2 separate regions of the Homo sapiens genome follow, and region 1 is linked to region 2. Evidence: promoter capture Hi-C in human tissues and cell types (Jung and others, 2019). All regions are on one chromosome and are shown on one strand. Each heading gives the region's core, a stretch centred on a gene start or on the middle of the fragment in contact. The rest is flanking DNA. Distances are from core to core; before and after follow the strand shown. Region 1 holds the start of TRAF3 (TNF receptor associated factor 3). Region 2 holds the start of CDC42BPB (CDC42 binding protein kinase beta).

Evidence for each region. The method cuts DNA at HindIII sites, captures the fragments that hold promoters and counts their contacts. A contact is called where the count stands out against the background at its distance.
Region 1: a contact is called between the fragment with the promoter of TRAF3 here and the fragment with the promoter of CDC42BPB in region 2, in 1 of the 25 tissues and cell types used here (liver).

What each region holds. Positions count from the first base shown.
Region 1 is chr14:102,771,998-102,778,847 of GRCh38, forward strand. It overlaps TRAF3 (TNF receptor associated factor 3), which reads left to right and starts at 5,452. Exons shown (of 12, transcript NM_145725.3): 1 at 5,452-5,678. RefSeq lists an enhancer at 4,025-4,264 and silencers at 4,975-5,034, 5,125-5,734, 5,945-5,994, 6,235-6,294. The HindIII fragment of the contact is 12,756 bases long and covers 1-6,850 here.
Region 2 is chr14:103,053,126-103,059,231 of GRCh38, forward strand. It overlaps CDC42BPB (CDC42 binding protein kinase beta), which reads right to left and starts at 4,424. Exons shown (of 37, transcript NM_006035.4): 1 at 3,874-4,424. The coding sequence starts at 4,048. RefSeq lists silencers at 4,096-4,175, 4,266-4,765, 4,806-4,915 and an enhancer at 4,911-5,561. The HindIII fragment of the contact is 24,533 bases long and covers 1-6,106 here.

The sequences.
Region 1 (6,850 bases), core at 4,202-6,701, 280 kb before region 2:
GCTGCCTGTAGGATGCCAGCCACGTCCAAGATTCATGTTCTCCCAAAAGATTTCGGGAAAATGCCAGAGATGTGTGTGTGTGTGCGTGTGCGTGCATACAAATCCCAGAATGGGTTCCCTAAAATGAGGATGGCTGGGGGCAGTGGCTCACGCCTGTAATCCCAGCACTTTGGGAGGCTGAGAAATGAGGATCATTTGAGCCCAAGAATTCCAGACCAGCCTGGGCAATGTAGAGGGACCGTCTCTACAAAAAAAAAAAGTAGTTGGGCATATGGTGACACACATGGTGACACACACTTGTGTTTTCAGCTATTCAGGAGGGTGAAGAGGGAGGACTGCCTGAGCCTGGGAGGTCAAGTCTACAGTGAGCTATGATTGCACCACTGCACTCCAACCTGAGTGACAGAGTGAGACCCTGTCCCAGAAAAAAAAAAAAAGGGTATCTTCATCTCCCCGAGTGGTCCACGGAGAAAATCAGAGCTGGTTTTCTTCTAATTGATTGTTATTATTATTATTTTTGAGACAGAGTCTGGCTCTGTCACCCAGGCTGGAGTGTGGTGGCACAATCTTGGCCCACTGCAACCTCCGCCTCCCATGTTCAAGCGATTCTCCTGCCGCAGCCTCCCAAGTAGCTGGGATTACAGGCGCGGGCCACCACGCCCAGCTCATTTTTTGTATTTTTAGTAGAGACGAGGTTTCACCATGTTAGTCAGGCTGGTTTTGAACTCCTGACCTCAAGTGAACTGCCCGCCTGGGCCTCGCAAAGTGCTAGGATTACAGGCATGAGCTACAGTGCCCGGCCTCTGATTAATTATTTTTATTTTGATTTTTTTGTAGAGACGAGATCTCATCGTGTTGCCCAGGCTGGTCTCAAACTCCTGGCCTCAAGCGATCCTCCTGCCTCAGCCTCCCAAAGTGCAGGGATTACAGGTGTGAGCCAGCTAGCCCGCTAGAACTGTTTTTCTGTGGCCGGGGACCCCAGCCTCTCACCTTCCCTGTCATCACTGCCCTCTCCTCCCCTCTCGAATATCCCGCGTGAGGGGTTTGCACACCCACGCCCATCTCGACCTTCCTTCCTTCTTTCCTTCCTTCCCTCCTTTCCTTCCTTCCCTCCTTTCTTTCTTTCCTTTATTTTTGAGACGGAGTCTCACTCTGTTGCCCAGGCTGGAGTGCAATGGCGTGATCTCGGCTCACTACAACCTCAGCCTCCCAGGTTCAGGCCATTCTCCTGCCTCAGCCTCTTGAGTAGCTGGGATTACAGGTGCCCGCCACCATGCCTGGCTTGCTCTGCCTCCCCACCCCCATTTCCTCTGCATTTGTTTACAAGCATCCCTGGCCCGAGAAGGGCACCAGCAGCTTGCTTCTTTGCTGGCGACCTCTGCTGTCAGCCAGGGTCTACTTCAAGGACAGGATGGGCTTCCCAGCCCAGCTGCCCCACTGTGCACTCACGACAGAGCGGGGTGCTTTGGCGCCACGACCACCCCAGCTCCCTGAACCCCCTTCGACATCTTCAGCAGCTCTTTCAGTCTAAAATGGTGTTTTCAAACTTCAGGTCATGAATCAAAAGTAAGCTTAAAGGGTAATGGCCACCATTAAAAAATAAACAGAACGGAAAATATCGGAGTGCGCCGCAGGTTTGAGATGATCTGTTGTTACGTGTGTGTACACACACAGGTTATGAACAACTGGGTTACCATGTAAAATGTATTCAAAGGTTCAGAAGCCACTTGTTGGAACAATTAGTAAAACTGTGATTCTGCCGTGCATCAGGGTCCGCCCCCCGAGGCTGGGCACCATGGCTCACACCTGTAATCCCAGCACTTTGGGAGGTTGAGGTGGGCGGATCACCTGAGGTGAGGAGTTCAAGACCAGCCTGGCTAACATGGTGAAACCCTGTTTCTTTTTTTTTTTTTTTTTGAGAGGGAGTCTCGCTCTTTCACCCAGGCCGGACTCTTTTGCCCAGGCTGGACTGCAGTGGCGCTATCTCTATCTCTGCTCACTGCAAGCTCCGCCTCCCGGGTTCAGGCCATTCTCCTCCCTCAGCCTCCCGAGTAGCTAGGACCACAGGCGCCCGCCACCGCACCTGGCTAATTTTTTGTATTTTTAGAAGAGACGGGGTTTCACTGTGTTAGCCAGGATGGTCTCGATCTCCTGACCTCGTGATTCGCCCGCCTCGGCCTCCCAAAGTGCTGGGATGACAGGCGTGAGCCACCGCGCCTGGCTGTGAAACCCCGTTTCTACTAAAAATACAAAAAATTAGCCAGGCATGGTGGTGTGTGCCTGTAATTCCAGCTACTCAGGAGGCTGAAGCAGGAGAATGGCTTGAACCTGGGAGGTGCAGGTTGCAGTGAGCTGAGATCGCGCCATTGCATGCCAGCTTGGACAACAAGAGTGAAACTCCGTCTCAAAATAAAATAAAACAAAACAAATCAAAACCAAGGTCCCCACCCCCCACCCCCAGGCCACGTGTAGCATGTTTGAGTGAGAGAAGTTGCCAGCACCCTTCAGCCCAAGTTGACCCACAGGGGCCAGTGGTTTTTGTGTGGGAAGGCGCCACCTGAGGCACAGACCATCACATTCAGGGAGAGTTATAAGAAAACCCCTTTCCTAGCCCCAAAGCCCCTGGCACTCTGCCACGAATACCTTTTCCTTCTCACTGAAAGACAAACAGGATGGCCTTCTGAGCTGTTGCATGTCTGTGAGTCACTTGAGTATCTGCATGCACTTCTCCAAAAATGCAGCAAGCAGAACATGTAATGCTACATCAACTCCTGTGAGAAATGCGTCCAAAGATGGTGTCGGTTTGTTGTTGGACGTTGCCATAGGGAACAGAGATCTGCCTTTGAAGTACAGCGAGGAGAGAGCTCTCCTTCCTGCCCATCACTGCTGCCCTGTGGCTCTAACTGCAGGGGCGAGAACACCCGCCACCAACCCCCAAAGCAGTTGCCCTGCTTGGGGCAAACTTCTTTGTCCTGTCCCCCTTCAATTCCCCACAGCAGAGGATCTTCAGAACTGCTCAATTGGAGAAGAAAAAGGAGGAGGAGGGGAGGGAGAGAAAGGGAGGGAATAGGTCTCACCAGCAGAGGGCTCAGCCTGGTTGTGCCTGACTTCATTCTCAATGTTGCTTTCTAATGCTAGGCTGGAGCATGAAAAGAGCCGCAGAAAACCCTCTCATGGGTCTTTGGACCTTCTGCCTTGCTTCTTCTTTTCTTTTCTTTAATTATTTATTTATTTTTATTTTTTTGAGACAGGGTCTCGCTCTGTTGCCCAGACTGGAGTCCAGTGGTGCCATCATGGCTCACAGCAGCTTCAACCTCATGGACTCAAGCGATCCTCCCGCCTCAGCCTCCCAAAGTGCTGGGACCACAGGCATAAGCCACCATCCTACTTTTTTTTTTTTTTTCCAGACAGAGTCTCACTCTGTCGCCCAGATAGGAGTACAATGGCACAATCTCAGCTCACTGTAACCTCCGCCTCCTGGGTTCAAGTGATTCTCTTGCCTCAACCTCCTGGGTAGCTGGGATTACAGGCACACTCCACCACGCCCGGCTGATTTTTGTGTTTTTAGTAGAGACGTGGTTTCACCATGTTGGCCAGGCTGGTCTCGAACTCCTGACCTCAGGTGACTTGCCTGCCCGCGGCCTCCCAAAGTGCTGCAATTACAGGTGTGAGCCACCATGCCCGGTCCATGTCCTGCTTCTTTTAAAACAACCAAAAATAGTCCAGCCTAGGAAAGGGAGTCTTTCCTGATTTTGGCAAAGTTAAACCAGGCCATAGGTAACACACAGCATAAGGCAGGCGTTGGGAGTGGGCCCCAGTCGACAGGGTGCCAGGACTGTGGGCTAAGCAGGGCTGGGGACATGGGAGGCCTCAGTGCCTGGGCTATGGGAAGTGGTTGGGACCCTGAGCCTGAGGTCAGTAACATCCCAACTCCTGACAGGCAAGAAAGGGCACCTGAGGCTCCCAAGGGGAGTCCACCATGGGGGTGGGGGAGACCGCTGGAGTCCATAGGTCCCTGTGAGGGACGGCGAAGGCGGGCCTGTCACCTCTAAAAGAGCTGTGCCTGTGGCGCAGACGGGGGTGCCACTGTGGCCTGGTGAGTGTGGCTGTAGAACAAGCATCTGTTGGGCTAATGGAGCCAGAGACATGGTCCAATGTCTCTGATGTCCAGATAGACTTCCAGCAGCCAGGTCGGACTATCTGGGGTTCTGGAACGTTCCATGGGTGAAGCTGTAGGAGGAGATGCTGGACTTCCTGCCTCCACTCACATGAGTCACTGGAGCAATACAAGAAGGCAGACTGGCCTTGGCTACTCACACTGGTCTCAGCTCTGGGGTAGGGCTCTTTATAAGCCTTCTTGAGAAGTGAAAAATGCAAAGTCCTTTCTGTCCCCTCACCACTGACTTGCAAACTCCAGCGAAGGCCTCACCCCTCAGCTGGCCCAGAGCCTCCCAGAAGCCCTCCCTTCGCTTCCCACCTCGCCAGGCCCAGCCAGGCTGGGTGCTGCCTTGGTGGGCCTAGGTGAATCACTGACACACCACTGATGCCTTTGGGGCAGAAGGCAGAGGCCTCGGGAGAAATGCGCAGGCCCCAGCGGCCTGGTGGAGGGTGCAGGGGGCGCAGGGGCAGCCAGGACCGCCGAGGACGCTGGGGGCACGTGGCAAACTGGCTACCCTGTCCACCCGTGAGCAAGACACCACTCCGGGGGCGTGGGAGGGTCCAAGGGAGGGAGAAAGGAAAGTGCCACCAAACTAATGTGGAGCCCTGCCCTCTGCATGCGAAAAGGGGCTCCACGGCCTGAGTCACCCTCAGCCCCACCTGCGTGTGCGCGAGGGTGCGTGGCCTGGTACGCGTGCGCACGGTGTTGGTGAGCGTGTGTGTGCGTGTCCGCTTGAGGGGAATGTGACCGTCGTGTATGCGTCCGCGACAGTGCGGGGGGCCGCATATCGGACCCGTGCGTGTGCGTAGGGGTCGCGTGTGGCCATGGGCACACGGGCGTGCACGCACGGGGGCTGCGTATGCTATGCTGGCGTGGGGGGTGCGGGCGAGGTGGCCGCGGGGAGGAGCGGCGCCAGCACCTCTCGGCCCCCACGCGGCCTGCGTGGCTTTTTGACCCGGAAAGGCGGGGACGCGGGGACGCGCGGCGGCGGGGGCGCGGCGGGGGCGGCGCAGAGCGAGGAGGCCCGCGGGGCGCGCGGCGGGGACGGGAGGGAGGCGGGGGGCGCCCGGGGCCGTCCCCGCCCCGCGCCGCGGCGCCGCCGTTGCTAAGGCCGGGCGGGCGGCCGCCGGGCGCTAGGGCCCTTAGCAACGGGTCGCGGGCGCGCGCGGGGGGCCGGCGGGCGCGTGGGGCCGGCGGCGCTCGCGGGCTCCTGCCGCTCCCACGCGCGCGGGCGGCGGGGGCGGGGCGGCGGGCGCGCCGGGGATTTCCAGCGCGCGAGAGGAAGTGCCTGCGCGGGGCTGCGTGAGGGAGCGAGGGAGCGAGGGAGCGCGGCGCGGCCGCCGCGTGCGCGAGCCGGGGTTGCAGCCCAGCCGGGACTTTCCAGCCGGCGGCAGCCGCGGCGGCCGCCGGCTCTTCCCCGCCCCCCGCCATGGGGCAGCCCGGGGAGCAGAACGCTGCGGACCGCGGCGGAGGACGCGCCCGGCGCCCCTGAGCCGGCCGAGCGGCGACGGACCGCGAGGTAAGGGGCCGCGGCGGGCGGGCGGGCCTCCGGCGCGCGGCCGGGCGCCTCCATCCCCGTCGCCTCCATCCCGCGCCCTGGGCGGCGGGGCCCGGGGGCCTCGGGGCTGCCCGGCGCGGGCCCGGCGCGGCGCAGGCCCGGCCCGTCCCAGCGGCGACGGCGGGGCGCGGCTTCAGCCTGGCCCCGCGCCCCAGCCGGGCTGCCTCCCGCCTCCGGACGCCTCAACTTCGGCAAACTTTGTCCCGGAGGCCGGGCTCGGGGCCCGAGGGGGCCGGGGCGCCCGCACCTTTTCAGGAAACGGGGCGCGCAGGCCTCGCTACGGCCGTGACCCCCGCTGGCGTTGAGGACCCGGCACCCCGCGGGGCCGCGGGTTTCACGCGGGGGGACGGGCGGCTCAGGGGCTGCGTGGCCGAGCGCGCTGCCCGGGCCGGCCGGGGGGGCCCGGGCGTTATTGGAAAGTTGGTCCTGAGTCATTCCGCCTCAGAGGCGCCTCCGACCGCTTGGCGGGCGGCGCGGGGGTCCGGGTATGGGCAGAGGGCGCGAATCCCCCTCGCGCGGCCGCCGAGGGCCGGCGACTCCCGGGGCACCGGGCGGCTCCTGGCCGCGGGCTCTGCGTCTTCCCCGCGGGCGCCAGGCGGCTCTCGGCGGGCTGGCCGGTTCCACGCCGCCAGCCAGCCCCGTGTGGGGACTTCGGTCTAGTATTTGGACCCGAGGAGATAATTCTGTGTGGAAAATTCTCTCCCTTCGGTTGGAAACAGTAACAAACTGGAAACGGATGAGGTGTTATGGACGTGCTTGGAAATGCAAGAAACCTTCAGATTACGAGCTGTTGACGGGACCAGTTGTATTTCACGTTTTTCGAATTAAGCTCAGAATCAGTTTTCAGAATGACATGTGATGCGTGGTGCGTGGTGTGTGTGCCTGTGTGTGTGTATGGATATAATTCATTCATTTTTGTGGCGTCAGAAAGGTTATGTCGAGCGTTGTAGCGGCTTCTTAATTTACATTCACGGCATACAACTGAAGAGGAGCCATTATTTATTTTTTTTCCTAGCATTTGCTGCGACTACACACTGCCGGAGCGTTTGGAAATGTTGTTTGCTGTTACCCTGTATTTGTCTATAAAATTCTTACTGTAGGGAATGGCCAAGTGGACCATCAGTTCGTCCTGA
Region 2 (6,106 bases), core at 3,174-5,673:
GATCACGAGGTCAGGACTTTAAGACCAGCCTGGCCAAGATGGTGAAACCCCGTCTTTACTAAAAATACAAAAATTAGCCAGGCGTGGTGGCAGGCACCTATAATCCCAGCTACTCGGGAGACTGAGGCAGAGAATTGCTTGAACCCGGGAGGCGGAGGTTGCAGTGAGCCAAGATCGCACCACTGCACTTCAGCCTGGGCAACAGAGTGAGACTCCGTCTCAAAAAAAAAAGAAAAGAAAAGAAAAGAATACACACGCAAAGCTGGGCATTAAGGTTCAAGATTTCATAGAGGAAACCAATCAAGCTATAGGAAAATTAAAGACAAAAACCTACAATGAAAGTTGAAATGACTCGGCCAGGCACGGTGGCTCACACCTGTAATCCAAGAACTTTGGGAGGCCAAGGGGGGCAGATCACGAGGTCTGGAGATCGAGACCATCCTGGCTAACACGGTGAAACCCCGTCTCTACTAAAAATACAAAAAAATTAGCCAGGCGTGATGGCGGGCGCCTGTAGTCCCAGCTACTCAGGAGGCTGAGGCAGGAGAACAACGTGAACCCGGGAGGCAGAGCTTGCAGTGAGCCGAGATCCCGCCACTGCACTCCAGCCTGGGCGACAGAGTGAGACTCCGTCTCAAAAAAAAAAAAAAAAGTTGAAATGACTCTTGTCCCATGCGACCACTGTGGCAATAAGAAAATATGAGCCAAAAATAATCATATTTTATTTATTTTTGAGACAGGGTCTCACTCTGTTGCCCAGGCTGGAGTGTAGTGGCATGATCATTGCTCATTGCAGCCTTGACCTCCCAGGCTCAAGTGATCCACCCACCTCAGCCTCCAGAGTAACTGGGACTACAGGTGTGCGCCACCATGCCCAGCTAATTTTTATATTTTTATAAAATTTTATTTTGACATTTATTATAGATACTGGGTTTTGTCAGGTTGCTCAGGCTGGTCTTGTCTTCCTGAGTTCAACCAATCCTCCACCTTGGCCTCCCAAAGTGCTGGGATTACAGGCATGAGCCACTGCACCAGGCCATAATCTTCCTTTAAAACTTAAAAAGTTTACTACCTATACTTTCCAAATTTCCTCACATATTCCCCATTAAGCCTCCAAATCTGGGCTGAATCAGCTACTTTTCTTCCTTAAGTTTCAAGAATTCTCCATAATTGTCATTAGATACCTGGCAAGATTTGGGAAGTGGGGAAAGGTTGGCTTTTCCACGTGACAGGAATCGACATATCAGAGGTTTCAAATGTCATGGAGTGGTGAATCCAAAAACTGAACAGTCCACTGATGGACAGCCTATATGTGTTTCCTGAGCAGAAGTAATTCCACTTGGAAGTTAGAGTACCTAATATTGCTCTATAAATAGTTTTATTCAAAAACATTATTCTGTGCTTTCCAATCGAAACAACCAGGCAATTCCAAGCAACATTAAATACTAACTGCACACATGTTAACTAGAAATACACCACTTTAGAGTTACAATGACGTATATGTTAACATAAATGAGTTTAAATACTTGTAAAATATATTGATATTTCATTAAAACACCACCTTCTAAGTCCATTCTTCCCTATAATTGAAAGTTTATACTTTTGTGCAAACTGAGTTCCTGAGAATAATGTAGTTTGTAATCACAATTTCCAAAGAGCCAGAATACAACTTTGAAAATATGTCTATGTTACAGCACAGTTCCCGTTTAGATTTGGAAAGGCCAGATCTCATAAAATATGACCTCCACACATGCTGACAAGAGCTTCCTCCAGGGAAGCCCACCAGTAATGCCTGGTGGAGAGAGGTGGCTGCACAATGGCCCCCAGGGCCCCCGCCCTCAGACTAATCTTCTAGGTCCCAGGCCAGAGGCCAGTGGGACCACATCTTCCCAGCAAAACCAACTTTCCCTCTGCTTCCTCTTCCCAGTCACACTCACAGGTGGTGCACCAAGTTGAACCTGACAGTGGAACTGTGTGGGTTTCAAGATCGAGTGATCAGAAAGGAACGGTAAACAAGCTGGGTGCAGTGGCTCACGCCTGTAATCCCAGCACTTTGGGAGGCCGAGGCAGGTGGATCACCCGAGGTCAGGAGTACAAGACCAGCCTGGCCAACACTGTGAAACCCCTTCTCCACTAAAAATACAAAAATGAGCCGGGCATGCTGGTGCGTGCCTGTAGTCCCAGCTACTCGGGAGGCTGAGGCAGGAGAATTACTTGAACCCAGGAGATGGAGGTTGTAGTGAGCCAAGATCATGCCACTGCACTCCAGCCTAGGCAACACAGTGAGACTCGTCTCCAAAGAAAAGAAAGAAAAGGTAAACAAAATATTCAGATTTTAACATGCACCAAAGACCTCACTTTCAAAGCAACGGTGAAGTCAATTAATTATTCAGTTGGAAATCGTGTCACTGACAAAGGACGCTAGAAAGCAAATACTCTTAATTTACTGATACTATAAGTAACCAAGAATGGTGGTTCCCACGGAAATAAAGCATCACAGGCTGTCCTTGATCTCAGGACCTCTTTCTACTGCTGCTCTCACAAGATACCGTGTAACATTTCACTACAGAGTAATCCAACAGAAGCCCTCTAAAGAATATTGCAACTTAAGTTTTATTTGTAAACAAAATTCCAAATTCCAGTCACCAATCTGGCAGAGTAGAGTAGGAGGCCTGGAGGCCTCACTGTGGAACACTTTCATTTGTTTCTTCGTATAAATATCAGCTTTATCAGCCCCAAAGATTAGAAATTACTGGTTCGAACTGAACAGTCCTAGCCCAGTGACGCAAATGACCCAAGGATAAGGTTTTCATAGGTTTGGCCTGAACATACGCATTTCCTCCTCCTACTCAGTGGTTTTAGGTGAGACAGTCTGAGGGTCTTGACCGGCACACCCGTTAGGGAGAGATGAAGTAAAAGAGTTTCACGCTGCACTTTTACCTGTCTTTAGGATCCTAATTATCGTTAAATGGTTTAATCAAATTTTTGTCCTAAAAAAGCATAATAGGTTAGCTGACCAATGATTAAAACATTATAGATCCGGAACGAACTAGAGAAGGCATGCAAAATTCAGATGAGAAAGTTTCTAAGTGATAGCTCCAGCTACCCCTCCAAATATCACAAAGGTCTAGCAGAATTGGAATTAAAAAAAAAAAGTCCTCTTGCACGGTTTATTTAAAATAAAGCCTTAACCTTAAAATTCCCTTGAAGGTGTTACAGCAAAGTAGGTATTCAGGCTCTGACCAACAAGGGGATGTAGACAGGCTGTCACCCAGGAGGGGCCGTTAGAGCTGGGCTCCCTGGGGATGCAAGGGGGTCCCACGGGGCAGTGGGCGAGGCAGATGCAGAAAGCACACCCAGCTGCCCCCACAACGCAGAGAAGCGTGGGGTGGGGAAAGGGAACTAATTCCACACTGCCTCCGGACCCCAAAGGCGAGGTGCGGGGGCGGGGGCGGGGGCGGGGGCGGATATCCCAGTGAGTGCTGCAGGAAATGATATCCAGACTCGGAGGGTGGATCTAGGAAGCCGCCAGGGCGAGGGCCCGGCGGGGGGGAGGGGGTGGGAGTGGGAACGTAGGATGTGGCTCCAAGGGGCAGGATGAGGGGGCGGGACGATCGAACGCGGATGTCGAGCCTAGGGAGGGCAAGGAGGGATGAAAAGCTAGCGGAGGGACGAGGGTGCAAGGAGCGGCTGGAGAGAGATGGGCTGCGGGCCTGGGGGCGCTGCCAGAGCGAGAGGAGGCGAAGCCCACGAGCTGGGTGGGCAGGAGGGCGGCAGGGTCTGTCCGGGCGGGGATGGGCGGGCGTGGGGATGCGCGGGCTGGGGCGCGGGGGTCGCAGAGCCGCAGGTCCGGCCCTGCCGGCGCGCACTTACCCCACTCGAGGAACTCGGCCACGTACTTGTCGCGGCGCAGGGCCGAGTGGCTGCACTCGGTGTACAGGCAGACGAGCACGTCGAGCAGCGTTTCCACGCTCAGGGCGCTCTCGTTGCGCCAGGGCCCGTCCAGGAGCAGCTGCTCCAGCTTCTTGAGCCGCACCTTGGCCGACATGGTGCCGCGCGGCCCGCTCCCGACGCGCCGGCCTCTCACCGCCGGCTCGGCCAGTCCGTCAGGGCGCGCCCTCGGGGGCTCGGCGGCTGCGAGCCCCGGCAGCAGCGGCGCCTCCTCGCCGCCCCGTCCGCGTCGTCGCGCCCCGGCCTAGGCCGACATCTTGGGCTCCGTCCCGACGGCGCAGAGTCTGGGGCGCCGGGCCCCGCGGGTCCATGGGCCGCTCTCCTCCCCTCGGCGCCGCCGCCCTCCCAGCTCGGGCGGCCCGCCCCCGCCGCCCTCAGCCCCGCCCGCGGCCGCGCCCTCCCCGCCGCCGCCGCCGCAGACTAGGAGCGGCGAGGAGCCTAGCGCTGCGCAAGCCCGGCCGGCGCCCGAGCCCGACCCCAGCCCCGACCCGGCGGCCCAGCCCCGCGGCCCGCAGCCAACCAGGGCGCGGCCAGCACCAGCGCAGCCAACCACTACGGGGCCGGCCGCCGCCGCGCTGACCTCAGCGCGCCGCCCCGCCCCGCGCCCGGCTCCCTGCTCCCGGCGGGCTCGGGCCTCGCCGCTTGCCGTAGGGAGCCGGGATGCTGGGAAGGCAGGGCCGGGCCTGGGGAGCGGCGCGGGGTGGGGGTGGGGGGGGCGGGGCGGGGCGAGTGGGCCGCTGAGATTGCGGAGCCCGCGCATGCGCAGAGCGCGCCTGGTGGGCGTGTGCGCCTTCGCCCTGCGGACCCGGTGCCTTCAGTATTCGGGGTCCGACCGCGCGCGTCGCGGATCCCGGGGCCGAAGACGACCCCAAGTATCGGAGAGGCAGAGTCGCGATCTCAGGCCGTCGAGCCCCGTCCCGCAGTCCGCGGGCCCATGTTGCCTGCGGGGCCTCGGACCTGCCCGGCCGAGGTGGGGGTCGAGGGCGGCCCGGCAGGCGCAGCTCTGATGGCCTCGGCGGGTTGTGGGCTATTTAAAACGGCTTGTCCCAGCTCGAAGCGGTCCTGGAAGACTCGGGCCCTACCCCTGACTTTACCGATGAGAGACTGAGGCCCAGACGGTGTGGGGTCAGGGCCCAGGCTTCTGGGGGATGCTGCCAAGGCGGGAGCCAGCGTCCCCAGTGCCCGGTGGATTCGTGATGGCTTGCAGAGGGTTTCAGTTTCCACTGTCCAGCCCTCCCTGCAGACCAATGCCTAGGTGTGACAGTTTGGTAGGAAAGGGGCCGGATATTTGTCTCCAGGCTGGGTTTGCCTAGCGAGTCGCTGCATTTACTAAGATTGTTGGTTAATTTGGGTGGCTGGGGGAGGGAGGCTGATGGAGATACCCCCCAACCCCAACAAACCCTTGGCGTCAGGAGAGGAGGGGCTTTTCCTGGAGCTTGCGGAAGGTCACCGAAATCGTGGGGGTATCTGAGAGCTTCTGGGGCGCGCGGGTGCAGGGGAAGGGGTCATGCTTCCGTGGAAGCGGTGGCCTCCAGGTGGAGCCGATGAAGGGGCAGATAGGGGTTTGAAGCAGGACGTTAAGGGAGCCTGAAGCAAAACTAATCTCTGGAGCTAAAAATAGGAGTGGGCCTGGCGCGGTGGCTCACACCTGTAATCCCAGCACTTTAGGAGGCCGAGGTGGGCGGATTGCCTGAGCTCAGGACTTCGAGACCAGCCTGGGCAACACGGTGAAACCCCGTCTCTACTAAAATACAAAAAACTAGCCGGGCGTGGTGGCGCGCGCCTGTAGTCCCAGCTACTCGAGAGGCTAAGGCAGGAGAATTACTTGAACCCGGGAGGCGAAAGTGCAGTGAGCCAAGATCGCTCCACTGCACTCCAGCATGGGCAACAGAGCACGACTCCGTCTTAATAATAGTAATAATAATAAGAAGAAGAAGAAGAAGAAGAGGAGTGGCTGCCTATGCCGGAGTTGTTGACTGGAACAAGAGGAGGAACCTTCTGGGCTGCTGGTAATGTTCTATGCCTGGATTTGGGTAGTAGTTACATGGGAGCACGCATAAGTAAACATTCTTCAAACTGTCTTCTTAAGATGAGTGCATGTCACTGTGTGTATGTATATATAATACCTTCATTTCTTAAAGGCAGGTGAGAACAA